2 separate regions of the Homo sapiens genome follow, and region 2 is linked to region 1. Evidence: promoter capture Hi-C in 16 types of primary human blood cells and fetal thymus (Javierre and others, 2016). All regions are on one chromosome and are shown on one strand. Each heading gives the region's core, a stretch centred on a gene start or on the middle of the fragment in contact. The rest is flanking DNA. Distances are from core to core; before and after follow the strand shown. Region 1 holds the start of VIP (vasoactive intestinal peptide). Region 2 has its middle 21 kb from the start of FBXO5.

Region 1 (6,238 bases), core at 2,672-5,171:
AAGTACTATAGAGCTACTTGGTCTGTACTTGAAATGATGCTCTAGACAAACAGCTCTATGAATGAACAGCTCTATCAGGTATCTTTTCTTTATATAGAGACAAAACTCCTTGGCAACTCTTCCATCATTGGAATGCTAAATGCTGTACTTTTATCAGAATTGGTACAATCTGTGATGTTGGAATTATGTGCAACAGAATGGAAGTGAATGGTGTGTTCATCCTGGCTTGTTACAACCTTTCAGTATGAAAATTATGTACAGCTGTAAGATCTGCAGTAAATCAGGATGAATGAAGCCATGACACATAGAAACCTCTAGTGTTTTGCTATCGGAATAGCTTCATGGTGAGATAAAATAAGCACGTTTATAGTTCTTAAACACATTTTCTAAAATAAAACTCATTGGATAGTTTTATAAAAATAAACTCACCTGGATACATCATAATAGGGTGTGTCATTTTCAGCTAATGCATTTTGCAACATGTCAATGTCTTCTTTTAATGAAACTTGATCAGGTTCATTTGCTCCCTCAAAGGGTATTCTGTCACCCAACCTGATGGGGAAAGTTACACGAGAATAATACATTCTTTTTTCAGAAGACAGTGTGTATGGTTCCGCAACCATTTAAAATAAGATACTTAGACTCTTGGGAAGTATTACCCAGTCATAATATGAGAATAGCATAATTTGACTTAATGGCTCATATAGTTAATGAGAGTATAAATAGGAAATTCCTATTATCCTATAAAGTAGATGCCATATGACTTTTATAAGCTGAATATACAAAACACAAGAGCTACTTAATTCAATCTTATCAGAGCATTAAGCAAACTATACTTCTTTGGTGTAATTTACTATGCCAAGAATATCTTCACTTTGCAAAGTCAAATTTCGTATGTAGAAATATTTTATGCAAAATAGAAACTTGCAAAAAACTAATATTGAATGAGAACTGATAACAATTTATGGATTTGGTGATGTTCAGTATTACCTGTTCCAAACATCTCTGAAGAACAGAGTATTAACTGCTTCTCTCTCTCTCGACCCCCAAGCTTTGCTTCAAATATTTACTTTGGCATTATATATTTCTCTGTATTGACAGAGTTCAAAGAATGTCTCCATAGATGGATAGCTCATCTATGAAGATGAATTTGAATTCAATAAGTTTTATGGGGCCTTCTTTTTTCTAATCTTATGTATTAACACAACTTTAATAAGGGATGTACAATGTTACACTGAAAGACTAAGAATAGTCAAATGCATATATGGAATATGACTATATTTATGGATGCATGCATATTTCAATCACCGGCAACTCTTATAATTTTGTGTGTGCAGATTTTCACTGTTAGGGCAAACATCCAAGGAGCGTGTCAGCTCCTGGACACTTGTGTATCTTTCAGTGATTTGGGAGTTGGGAGTCACTAGCAACTAGTCCTCTGTGGGTCTGAAGCTTAGCAATCAACACAAATGTCCACATTCTTGTGATTGTTCATCTGCTGTGGTAGAACTATTCAGATAGAACCATTTTGTTTAGTTATCAAAGCAACGCAGGAGCTGTATTTAAACAGATTTCACAGAGAACACTAATAGCTAAGAGGTTATTCTCTCTGTTGAGCATAAGTCTACCTTAAGCAAAAAATCAAGAATGACCTAATAAGCAAAGAAGGAAACCAACCCAATTATTATTTTTCCTTTGGAGATACAGTGGTGCCCGTAAACTGAAAGGAAAATTCAAGCTAATATAGTTTTCATTTATTGTTTACTTCTTTAGCATACATTAATAAAGTTTTAAATAAGAGTTGTGTTATACTTTATGGATTTGGAATATATAATATAACATATAGAACAATAAAACTAAGGATTTATGGTCCAAACAAAGTATATCAAAATTTTCCTATTGGGGGAGTGTATCTCAATAGATCAATTACCCCATATTTAATATTGGCAAATTGACTCTGCCTAGATAGATTTCTGTGCAACATGATTTTATACATGTTTCACTAATCAACTACTAGTCTTATGATTATTTACTGATTAATCTTGAAAATAAACTCAAATGTGGTTGGCAACTAAACAGCTTTTTTCCACCAGAAATTGAACTGACTTGAGATAACAATGGATAAAAGCTTATTATTTATCTAAAGATGGTTTTGAATAAAAAGAAAGTGAAAGCCTCCTTTCACCATGTTTGGGAATGTGATCCACTCAGCCCATAAAACTAATAACTGACAGTGTCTCTCATGCCCTGAAAGTGAATTCCAGGACTCAGAATGACCTGATGTTGACAAACACCTCTCACTCAACACATCAAGGAAAAATTTAAATACATAATACATAATTTATACTATTTAGTTGTCCAACAAAATGTATAGGAAATTCCCATTTAGATGAGGAAGGAATGTTCAGATGTTTGAATTGAAAGGGAACTTACCTGAGAGCAGAAGGTGCCCTGTAAAGAGGCCATGCCGAAGTCTGTGAGAAGAGCACACTGAGAAGAGTCAGGAGCACAAGGAGCTGGGCCTTATTTCTGGTGTCCATTTCTGTGCCTCTAAAGAGAGAGAATCACCTCAGTTCTTCCAGCCAAAGATGTCACCAGCAAGGTAATTCTGATTGTCTAGCAGTAATTTTCAATGGCTCTTGCAGAGTTTGTAAAGAGTAATTTTCATCTTGTAGAAAGAGTTAAATTGCAAGATGATACATTCAAAAATCAGTATTTCTCTCAGTGACAGGTGCTTGAATAAAAATTAGAATCCTTTTCACCTGCTGTCTGGGCACATGGTTGGCCCCAGTATCTATTGAATGCCATACTTCTATAGTGCTGGAAATAACCCTGGGGACAATCTTTTCATAACAGGGATGTACCACTCAAGCTTAGTGTATTTTTTGACGAAGGAAACAGCTTCAAGACATTGATTTTCTTCTGCTTTAAAATTTCAGTATCTGACTAATATAAGACTAGAGTATCATCTATTTAATAATTATTCTGCTCGTGTGTGTGCAAATGTATAAATATAATGTGTATATATACATATAATTTTAAAAAAGATTTTGTATATACATTACTTTTTCCTCTTTCAATTGTAGATATTACGGAAACTTATTTCCTTACACCTGGATTTGAACTTCTTAACTCAGTAGTGAATATTAATACTCAAAATATTACTGAATCATATGTTGTCATTGAAATAAATTTTTCCATAAGAGGAAAATATATATTAAAAGCAAAGCTTGCATTTCTTGCATTTAATCAACTTACACATTTCATTTCTAGTTTCTAGATTAAAAGCCTAGGAGTAAGGTCTGTTTCTCTTGCTGCCTATAAAAATTATGGAATTTAAACTTAAGGAAAAAATAAATGCATCTTAGATTCACTTAACCAACATACGAAATAGGAAAAAAAAAGCACTTTAAAAATAAGTTGAAAATTTCAAAAGCAAATGTTCCCACTGAAATTTTCAGTCAAAAATCTACATACAAGTAAACTTTACTTGAATGAATTATTTGTAAAAATCAGTATTCAGTAAAAGAGCAAGCAGGGTAAAGCATCTTACAAACAAAAGAATTCAGAAAATCTATCCATATGAGAGAAATTGAAGTATTTCTATCCTTACCAGGTGACTTGAGAAACTTGTTTTTTGCTGTTGCAAAAGCAAAGCACTATCAAATTCTTTTCAAGAGAGAAAAATTCATTATTTTGTGAGAAAAGTTCCAGAGGCAGGAGGGAAAAAGAAGAGGAAAGGTAAAGTTTTCACTTACCTCGCCCAGTCGTGCTCCCCCGGAGCTGACTGTTCTGGTTTGTTTTGGAGCTGTCTTAGGTGCTGAAGTCCTGGGAGTAAGAGAAAGGCTCCACCAGTTCTCTGCCCTTAGCAATGGCTAAGGGTTGGCTGTTACTGCCTGCTGGTGCTTCTCACTCTACCCTGACCAGCATTTCAAAGCCCATCATTTTATAGGGCTTATACTTAGGACTGAGCAATCACAAAGTGCTCTGAAAGACGTCACAGTATGACGGCCATGGGATGAATAGGGCTTGAAGTTCTTACTTAATTGTCATTATGCCTAATTTATATAAGTTTATAGTGAGCAACTTCAAAATGTAAGATAAGAGGAAATTTACTTTTCTTTAAACAAACAAAGTAGCAAGCTCAATGTGAAATGTTTTAACCTTTAATTAATTGTAAAATAAGAAAATGATTGTAGTGTTATAGCCAGGGCCATTGGGATTCCTTCAGAAAATAAAGACTTCATGTGTAGAAACAAATGCATAAAGCAACAAACACTTATGTTCATTACGCTTATAAAAGTATAATTATACTTTATTACAAAGTATCAATTCTCTTAATATTTTTAATTTTTATGCTATTCATATAGTTCCAGATTTAATCTTTCTTGAAATCTATCCTAACTTTAAAAGCTCTAGAGATAATTTTCACCTTCCTATTATTACATTTCGTCTTTGTTGAAACTAATTCCAAGATAAGTGTTTCAGAAAGTCTCTAAGATAGTAAGATATGCACGCTGTTGTACAAAGCAGTACAAGTAGTGCTATTTCATATTTGTATAAAATGGCACAATTCCCAATGCACTTTTACATACACTGTGTCAAATGATCCAAAAAATAAATTGTTGTCAGGCTATATACCTCAAGGAATTTAATTGTCTTTTCTTTTTAAAGATTTTCCTCATCACTTTTATAAGTCTTTGCATAATGTAGAATTAGTTTTCTACCCTCATCCCCAACACACACACATACTCAAACCAGTTTTGAACATTTCTGATTCAATCACTTGACAGGTGGCTTCAAATAGTTGAAAAGCATTTATATAGTACTTTGATAAATACTTCACTTCTATTTGTGGATTTGTAACTAAAGGTAGTCTAGCACACATTCAATCAGAGTTTAAGGTAAAAATGCAGCCACATGAAAAATTTCCTAAACAACAGAGGAAAATGCCATTTTTCCTTTTATTTTAAAGGCTTTCTGCCATGTGTATTATTTTTACATTTTGTTTCTAAGTTTCATAAGACAGAATGGCTTTACAGTCCTCTTTCTTCTACTTTAAGATTGTAGTATCTATTTCCTTCGTTCAAAGTCAGACTGATCCAGTAAAAGAATATCCTGCTATGCTTAATCATATTTTCTAATCCAGTTACCAGAAAAATTAAATGAATTAAGTTTCAAAATGTCTGGAAATTTGTTTCCCAGTTGACAGCTCTGACTTAAGCCAGAGTTCCTGTGGCTTAATTCCAGGAAATCTTTTTTACCTGATTATTACAAACTAGAGGTTGAAACAGTTCTCATATGGAATTTTTTTATCCTTAGCTCTTCATCACCCAATTCTTAGTGAACCAATTTTATTTAAGAGCAGAAACAGCAAAGCAACTTAATTGAGGGTCACAGACAAATGACTGCTGAATGATAAGAAGAAAAATTTTAAACATAAAAGATGTAAAGCTGATCATTATTTGGCCTAGGCAAGCACTTAGCATTTACAAAGAGTAACTATAGTAGCTTTTCCCAATACAAAAGACAATTGCTTCTATTATAATAATAATAAGATAAAATAAAAAGAAATAATTCAATTTTATTACCTCTGAATAAAAGTAAACTCAACCAAACAACTGCATTTTCTCTTATGAATTTAAACTAGAAAGCAAAACAATTTGAAAATGGAATCATAGCACCATCTGCAGGTTCAAAGTTTTAATTCACAGACTTTATAGAATTGTGTTTATTTCTTCTTTTCTTTCAAGGAAATGAATTGTAAACCAGAGGTCCTGTAGCCAGCTTAACTTTTGGATGCTTCCAGAAAAAATAAACATAAGAAAAAGTACTGCAGTCAAATTTATCCTGAATTCTCGGTTACCATAAAACTTAGTAAATAAGTACAAAGATACAAACTTGAATTTACTGTTTAAATGTGTCTTTTCCGTACTTTGACATATTCTTCCATAATTTGCCTACATTTCTGGCAAAGTTTATTTTTGCCTTAGGCCTTCTCAGTAAAGTGATGTTTGTAATAAGGGGAACTATAATTCATTCACATGGATAGAAAAATCTTCAAGATCCTTCTTTTACAAATAAGTAAACTGATCTCCAGAAAGTTTCAGTAATTTTTGCCACTCAGGTGGTTAATAACAAATACGAGATTGGAAGATAGACCGTCTGATTTTGAGTCAGCATTCTTTCAATTTAGAATTGGTAATATTCTGTAATTGTTGCTATCACCTTTTTGATG
Region 2 (6,238 bases), core at 1,053-3,552, 210 kb before region 1:
TCGCATTCCTGGGGTTAATGCCACTTCATCACAATGTATTATCCTTTTTAAACATTATTATATATTTAAATATGTATAAATATATATTTGTTAAGAATTTGTATTTATATTTATGATGAATATTGGTCTGTAGCTTTCATACAATGTCTTTGGGACATATTCTTTTCTTTTCAATTTTCTGGATGTTTGTGTAGAATTGGTATTATTTCTTCTCTTACTATTGCTGGAATTGTACAAGGGAACCATCTGAGTCTGTCATTTTCTTTGTGAAAAGATGTTTGAAATACAGTTTTTTAATAGATAAAGGGCTATTCAGGTTATCTATTTCTTCTTGAGTGAGCTTTAGTAGTTTGTATATTTCAATGCATTTTTAATTTAATTTATTGTATTTATTGGAATAAAGTCATCACAATATTCTAGTATCTTTAATATTTATAGAATGTGTATTAATGTCATCTCTTGCATTCCAATATTGATAAATTCTGTCTTTTCTCCCCTTATACTGATCAGTCTGACTACAGGTTTATCACTTAGATGGATCTCAAATAACTCATTTTTGGTTTCAGATTTTTCCCTGTTTTTCCTTATAATTGATTTTTTGTTTTATTTCTTCTGTTTCCTTGTGCCTGAAGGACTTTAATTTGCCCTTTTTCTACATTCTTTTTCTGGATTCTTAAGGTAAATGTTGAGTTCATTGATTTCAGACCCTTATTCTTTCCTAATATAAATATTTAGTCCTAAAAGTTTCCTCCAAATTCTATTCTAGCGGCATACCACTAAATCTGATATTTTGTCCTTTTCTTTTTATTCATTTGTAAGTGTTCTATAATTTTCCTTTGGATTTCTTCTTTGATGTGTAGGTTATGTATAAGTCTGTTATTTACTTTTCCAATATTCTGGAATTGTCCATATATCTTTTTATTAACTTCTAATTTCATGGTGGTCAGAGAAAACAGTTGTGTGACTCAATTCTTACAAATTTATTGAGTATTTGTTTTTGGCCTATAATACGCTCTATGAAGGGAATATGGTGTGTTTTGCTGTTCTTTGGTAAAATGACCTATAAATATCAATTGGTTCAACTTGGTTGATAGTGCTCTCCATATCTTCTATATCCTTACTGATGTCTATCTATTTGTGCTATTATTGAGTGAGAAGTATTCAGATCCCTAGCTGTAATTGTGGATTTGTCTATTTCTTGTAATTCTATCAGTTTTTGCTTTTAAGTACAGATGCTCCTCAACAATGTGGTTATGTCTGGATACACCCACTGTTTGAACTTACAGTGTGTTTATCTGTGCACAACTTCATAAGTCAAAAAGCATACTGAATGTGTATCCCTTTTGCACATTGTAAAGTTGAAAATTTGTAAGTCAGAGGCTGTCTGTATTTTGAAGCTCTGTCATTAGTTGCATAAATATTTAAGATTATTATGTTCTCTTAGTGAAATGAACACTTTATCATTTTTAAATGACCTTTTTATCCCTGGATGTGGCTTTTCTATGGAATCTACATTGTTTTATATTAAAATAAGCACTCCAGTTTTGTTTTGTTTTTTGAAATTAATATTGGCATAGTATATTTTTTCATCCATTTTTAACTTTTTTTGTAGTTTTCTATGGTAGTGTGTTTCTTACAGACAGCATATAGTCAAGTATTCATTTATTTTTTTAATCTACTTCAAAAATGTTTGTCTTTTGAGATAATTAGACAATTTTCACTTGATGGGATTATTGATATGGTTGGATTTAAACCTACTTTCTTGATATTTGTTTTCTATTTGGTAATTGTTCTTTATTCCATTTTTTTCTCTTTTTTGCCATCTTTTGATTATTTTTATGGTTCCTTTATATCTAGTTTATTAGCTAATTAGCTATAATTCTATTTTGTGATTTTAGCTATTACCTCTGGATTTATAGTATTTCTTTTTAACTTGAGTCTAGCTTCAAATATTATTGTACCCTTTTATATATAGTATAAAACTGCCATACTATTTCTTCCCTCTAAGCTTTGTGCTGTTATCATACATGTTAGTGCAATATATATGTGTATATATATACACAAATATATACATACACTACATTATTTTTGTTTCTTTGTTTATCATCTAAGATATTTATGTAATGAGAAAGTTTTCTTATACTTGTATTTGCCCACACAGTTGTCATTTCTGGTATCTTCATTCCTTTGGGTAGAAATAAATATATTTCTATCTGATAAAACTTTCCTTGTGCCTGAAGGACTTCCTTTAATTTTTCTTATAATACAGATATGCTGGTCTTTGATTTTTTTCAGCCTATGTACATGTGAAAACATCTTTATTTTTGTCATTTTGAAGTTATTTTTAATTAACAAATGATTCTATATATTTATGGGGTACATGATGCTTTGATATATGTACACACACACACACACTGTAGAATGATTTAACATATCCATCACCTCACATACTTATCTTTTTTTTGTGGTGAGAACATTTAAAAATCTATGTTCTTAGCAGTCTTCAAATATACATACAATACATTATTATTCACTATTGCCTCCATGCTTCACAGTGGATCTCCAGAACTTATTCCTCCTATCTAACTAAGCTTTTTATCCTTTAACCAATATTTCTCCATTTTCCACCTCACTATCACCCACCCTAGTCCCTGGTAACCTCCATTCTACTCTGATTTCACATAAAAGTGAGATCATTCAGTTTGTCTTTTGTCTTTCTGTGCCTGGTTTATTTCACTTAGGATGATGTCTTCCACATTCATCCATGTTGTTGCAAGACTGCCATGTGGAAGGCAAGATATCTTTCTTTTCATAAGGCTGAATAGTATCATGCTATGTATATATATCACATTTTCTTTATCCATTTATCAGTTGATAAACACTTAGGTTGACTCCATATCTTTACTATTATGAATAATACTGAAATGAACATGGAGGAGGGAATATCTCTTCATTTCCTTTGGTAACATACTGAGAAAGATAATTGTTGAATCATACAATAGTTTTATTTTTAATTTTGGGGGGAACCTCCATACTGTTTTCCAAAATAATTATGCTAATTTACATTCCCACCAACAATGTACTAGGGTTCCCTTTTCTCCACATTTTTGTTAACACTTGTTATGTTTTATTTTTTTGATAAAGACTATTCTAGTGAGACGATATCTCATTGTGGCTTTCATTTGCATTTCCCTGATTGATTATTAGTGATGTTGAACATCTTTTCATATACCTGTTGGCCATTCACATGTCTTCTTTTGAGAAATATCTATTCAGGTTCCTACCCATTTTTTAAACTGGTTGTTTTCTTGCTATTGAGTTGTTTGAGTTTCTTAAATATTTTGGATATTGGCCCCTTATCAGATATGTGGTTTGCAAATATTTTCTCCCCATCCCATAGATAGTCTCTTCACTCTGTTGATTGTTGCCTTTGGTGTGCAGAAGCTCATTAGTTTGGTGCAATCCAATTAGTCTAATATTGCTTTTGTTGCATGTGTTTTTGGGGTTGTATCCAAAAAATTTTTGCCAAATCCAATGTTAAGAAGCTCTTTCCCTCTGTTTTCCCCTAATGGTTTTATAGTTTCAGATCTTATATTTAAGACATTAACCCATTATGATTTGACTTGTGTACTTGGGACAAGATTAAGGGTCTAATTTCATTCTTCTGGGTGTTGATATCTAATTTTCCCAACATATTGAAGAGAATGTCCTTTCCTTATTGTATGTCCTTGACAGCTTTGCTGAAAATCAGTTGACTGTAAATGTGTGGGCTCTGTTTTCTATTTCTTTGGTCTATATGTCTGCTTTTATGACAGTATGGGCTGTTTTGATTATTATACGTTTTTGGTACATTTTCAAGTCAGGTATTGTGATGCCTCCAGCTTTGTTTTCCTAAAAATTGCTTTGACTATTTGAGGTCTTTTGTTTTCCTATACAAACTTTAGGGTTGTTCTTTTCTATTTCTGGGAAAAGGTCATTTCACTTTTGACAGGGATTGCACTGAATCTGTAGATCACTGGGGTAATATGGACATTTTAACAATGTTAATTCCTCCAATCCATGAATACTGTATATATTTTCATTTGTTTTTCTCTTAAATTTATTTCATCAATGTTTTATAATATTCAGTGTATGGATCTCTCATACACTGAATGTATTTGGTTAATTTTATTTTTGGTTAAATGTATTTCTAAGTTTTTCATTAATGCTATCACAAATAGGATTGTTTTCTTGATTTCTTTTGTGAATAGTTTGTTGTTAGTGTATAGCAATGATACTAATTTTAATATGTTAATTTTGTATCCTGCAACTTTACTGAAATCAAAGCCAGTCAAGGACATTACAAAAAAAGACAATTATAGGCCAAAATCTCTGGTGAACATACATGCAAAAATCCTCAACAAAATACTAGTAAACTGAATTCAATAAGACATTAATAGGGTTATTCACCAAGTTTTTCACTTGATTTTGTGCTGCTATAACAGATTATCTGAAACGGGGTAATTTATAATGAACAGAAATTTATTGGCTCACTGTTCAGAAGGCTGAGAAGTCCAAGATCAAGGGGCTGACATTTGACAGGGACCTTTTTTGCTGCACTCTTTTATGACAAAAGGGCAAAGAAAATGCAAGAAGGCTGGGCGCGGTGGCTCACGTCTGTAATCCCAGCACTTTGGGAGGTCGAGGCAGGCGGATCACCTGAGGTCAGGAGTTCAAGACCAGCCTGGGCAACCTGATGAAACCCCGTCTCTACTAAAATACAAAAATTAGCCGGGTGTGGTGGTATGCACCTGTAATCCCAGCTACTCCAGAGGCTGAGGCAGGAGAATTGCTTGAGCCTGGGAGGTGGAAGTTTCAGTGAGCCAAGATCGTGCCATTGCACTCCAGCCTGGGGGTGACAGAGCTAGACTCCATCTCCAAAAAAAAAAAAAAAAAAGGGGGGGCAAGAGATTGAACTTGCAGCCTGAAGCCCCTTTGTAATCAACCTTAATCCACTTATAAGTGGTGGAGCCCTTATAGCCTAAACATCTTCTATTAGGTTCTACCTTTCAACACTATTAGATTGGAAATTAAGTTTCCAACAAATGCTTTTAATTAATTAATTTATTTTTGAGAGAGGGTCTCACTCTGTTACCCAGGCTGCAGTACAGTCGTACTATCATGGTTCACTGCAACCTCAATCTCCCAGACTCAACTGATCCTCTCACCTCAGCCTCCCCAGTAGCTGGGACTACAGGTGTACACCACCATGCCCAGCTAAGTTTTTGTTATGATTTTTTTTTTTGGTAGAGACAGAGTCTCACCATGTTACTCAGGCTGGTCTTGAACCCCTGGGCTAAAGCAATCCTCCCACCTTGGCCTCCCAAAATGTTGAGATTACAGGTGTAAGCAACGGTGCTCAGCCCACACATGCTTTTTTGAGGACACATTCAAACCATAGCCTTTTTGTTCCCTTGGGCCCCAAAATTCATGTCTTTCTTGCAAAATACATGCATTTCATCTAATAGCCCCCAAAAGGCTTAAATCATTCCAGCATCAACTCAAAAGTCCAAAGCCCAGAGTCTCATCTAAATAAGATATAGGCTAAAGTCAAGGCAGGATGGCAAGGAGGCAATTTACTTCAGGCATGAGCCTGTGGAATCAAGCAAGTTATGTGCTTCCAAGCGTTATGTGCTTCCAAAATACAGTGGTGGGACAGGCATAGCATAGACATTCCTGAGGCAAGATAGGTAGTCAGGGAAGTAACCATGTCTTTGGGATTCAGCGACTGCACCACAACAGCAAGCCCCACAACCATGTCCTCGGGAAGTGAAAACCACACCAATACAACAAACCCCAGGCGGAAGTACGGACCGCATATTGGCGTCGCCGAGCAACTGTGGGGGATCCCGGGGGGAAAAATCAACTGGCGCCGAACCGAGCTGAAGAAAAAGCTGATCAGCGCAGGCCGGTGTTGAACCGCAAGCAGCGTCTGAGGCACTGGGTGGTCGAAGCTGTGATAGATCAAGCGCTGATCACGCGGCACCACCTCAAGAAGCAGGCATCCAGTGCACGTGCCAACATTACTCTGTAGGGGAAGAAGCCTAGAAAACTCCTCCGGCAGATCCGGCTTGCCCAGATGGAGAAGGCAGCCATGGAGGTGGAAGCCCGTCAAAGCCAGCCAGGACTATCGAACCACAGCTCAAAATGCAAAAGAGGACAAAAGTCCCCCAGGACATAGAAATGAAGGACCTTGAAG

Evidence for each region. The method cuts DNA at HindIII sites, captures the fragments that hold promoters and counts their contacts. A CHiCAGO score of 5 or more calls a contact.
Region 2: a fragment that was not itself captured here is called in contact with the fragment with the promoter of VIP in region 1 in 1 of 17 cell types (megakaryocytes); the score reaches 5.6 in megakaryocytes.

The regions. Positions count from the first base shown.
Region 1 is chr6:152,748,480-152,754,717 of GRCh38, reverse strand. It overlaps VIP (vasoactive intestinal peptide), which reads right to left and starts at 3,921. Exons shown (of 7, transcript NM_003381.4): 1 at 3,759-3,921; 2 at 2,434-2,550; 3 at 430-552. The coding sequence starts at 2,540. The HindIII fragment of the contact is 3,260 bases long and covers 3,232-6,238 here.
Region 2 is chr6:152,959,288-152,965,525 of GRCh38, reverse strand. It overlaps the pseudogene C11orf98P2. Among named protein-coding and RNA genes, the nearest start is that of FBXO5, 21 kb to the left of the region's middle. The HindIII fragment of the contact is 583 bases long and covers 2,011-2,593 here.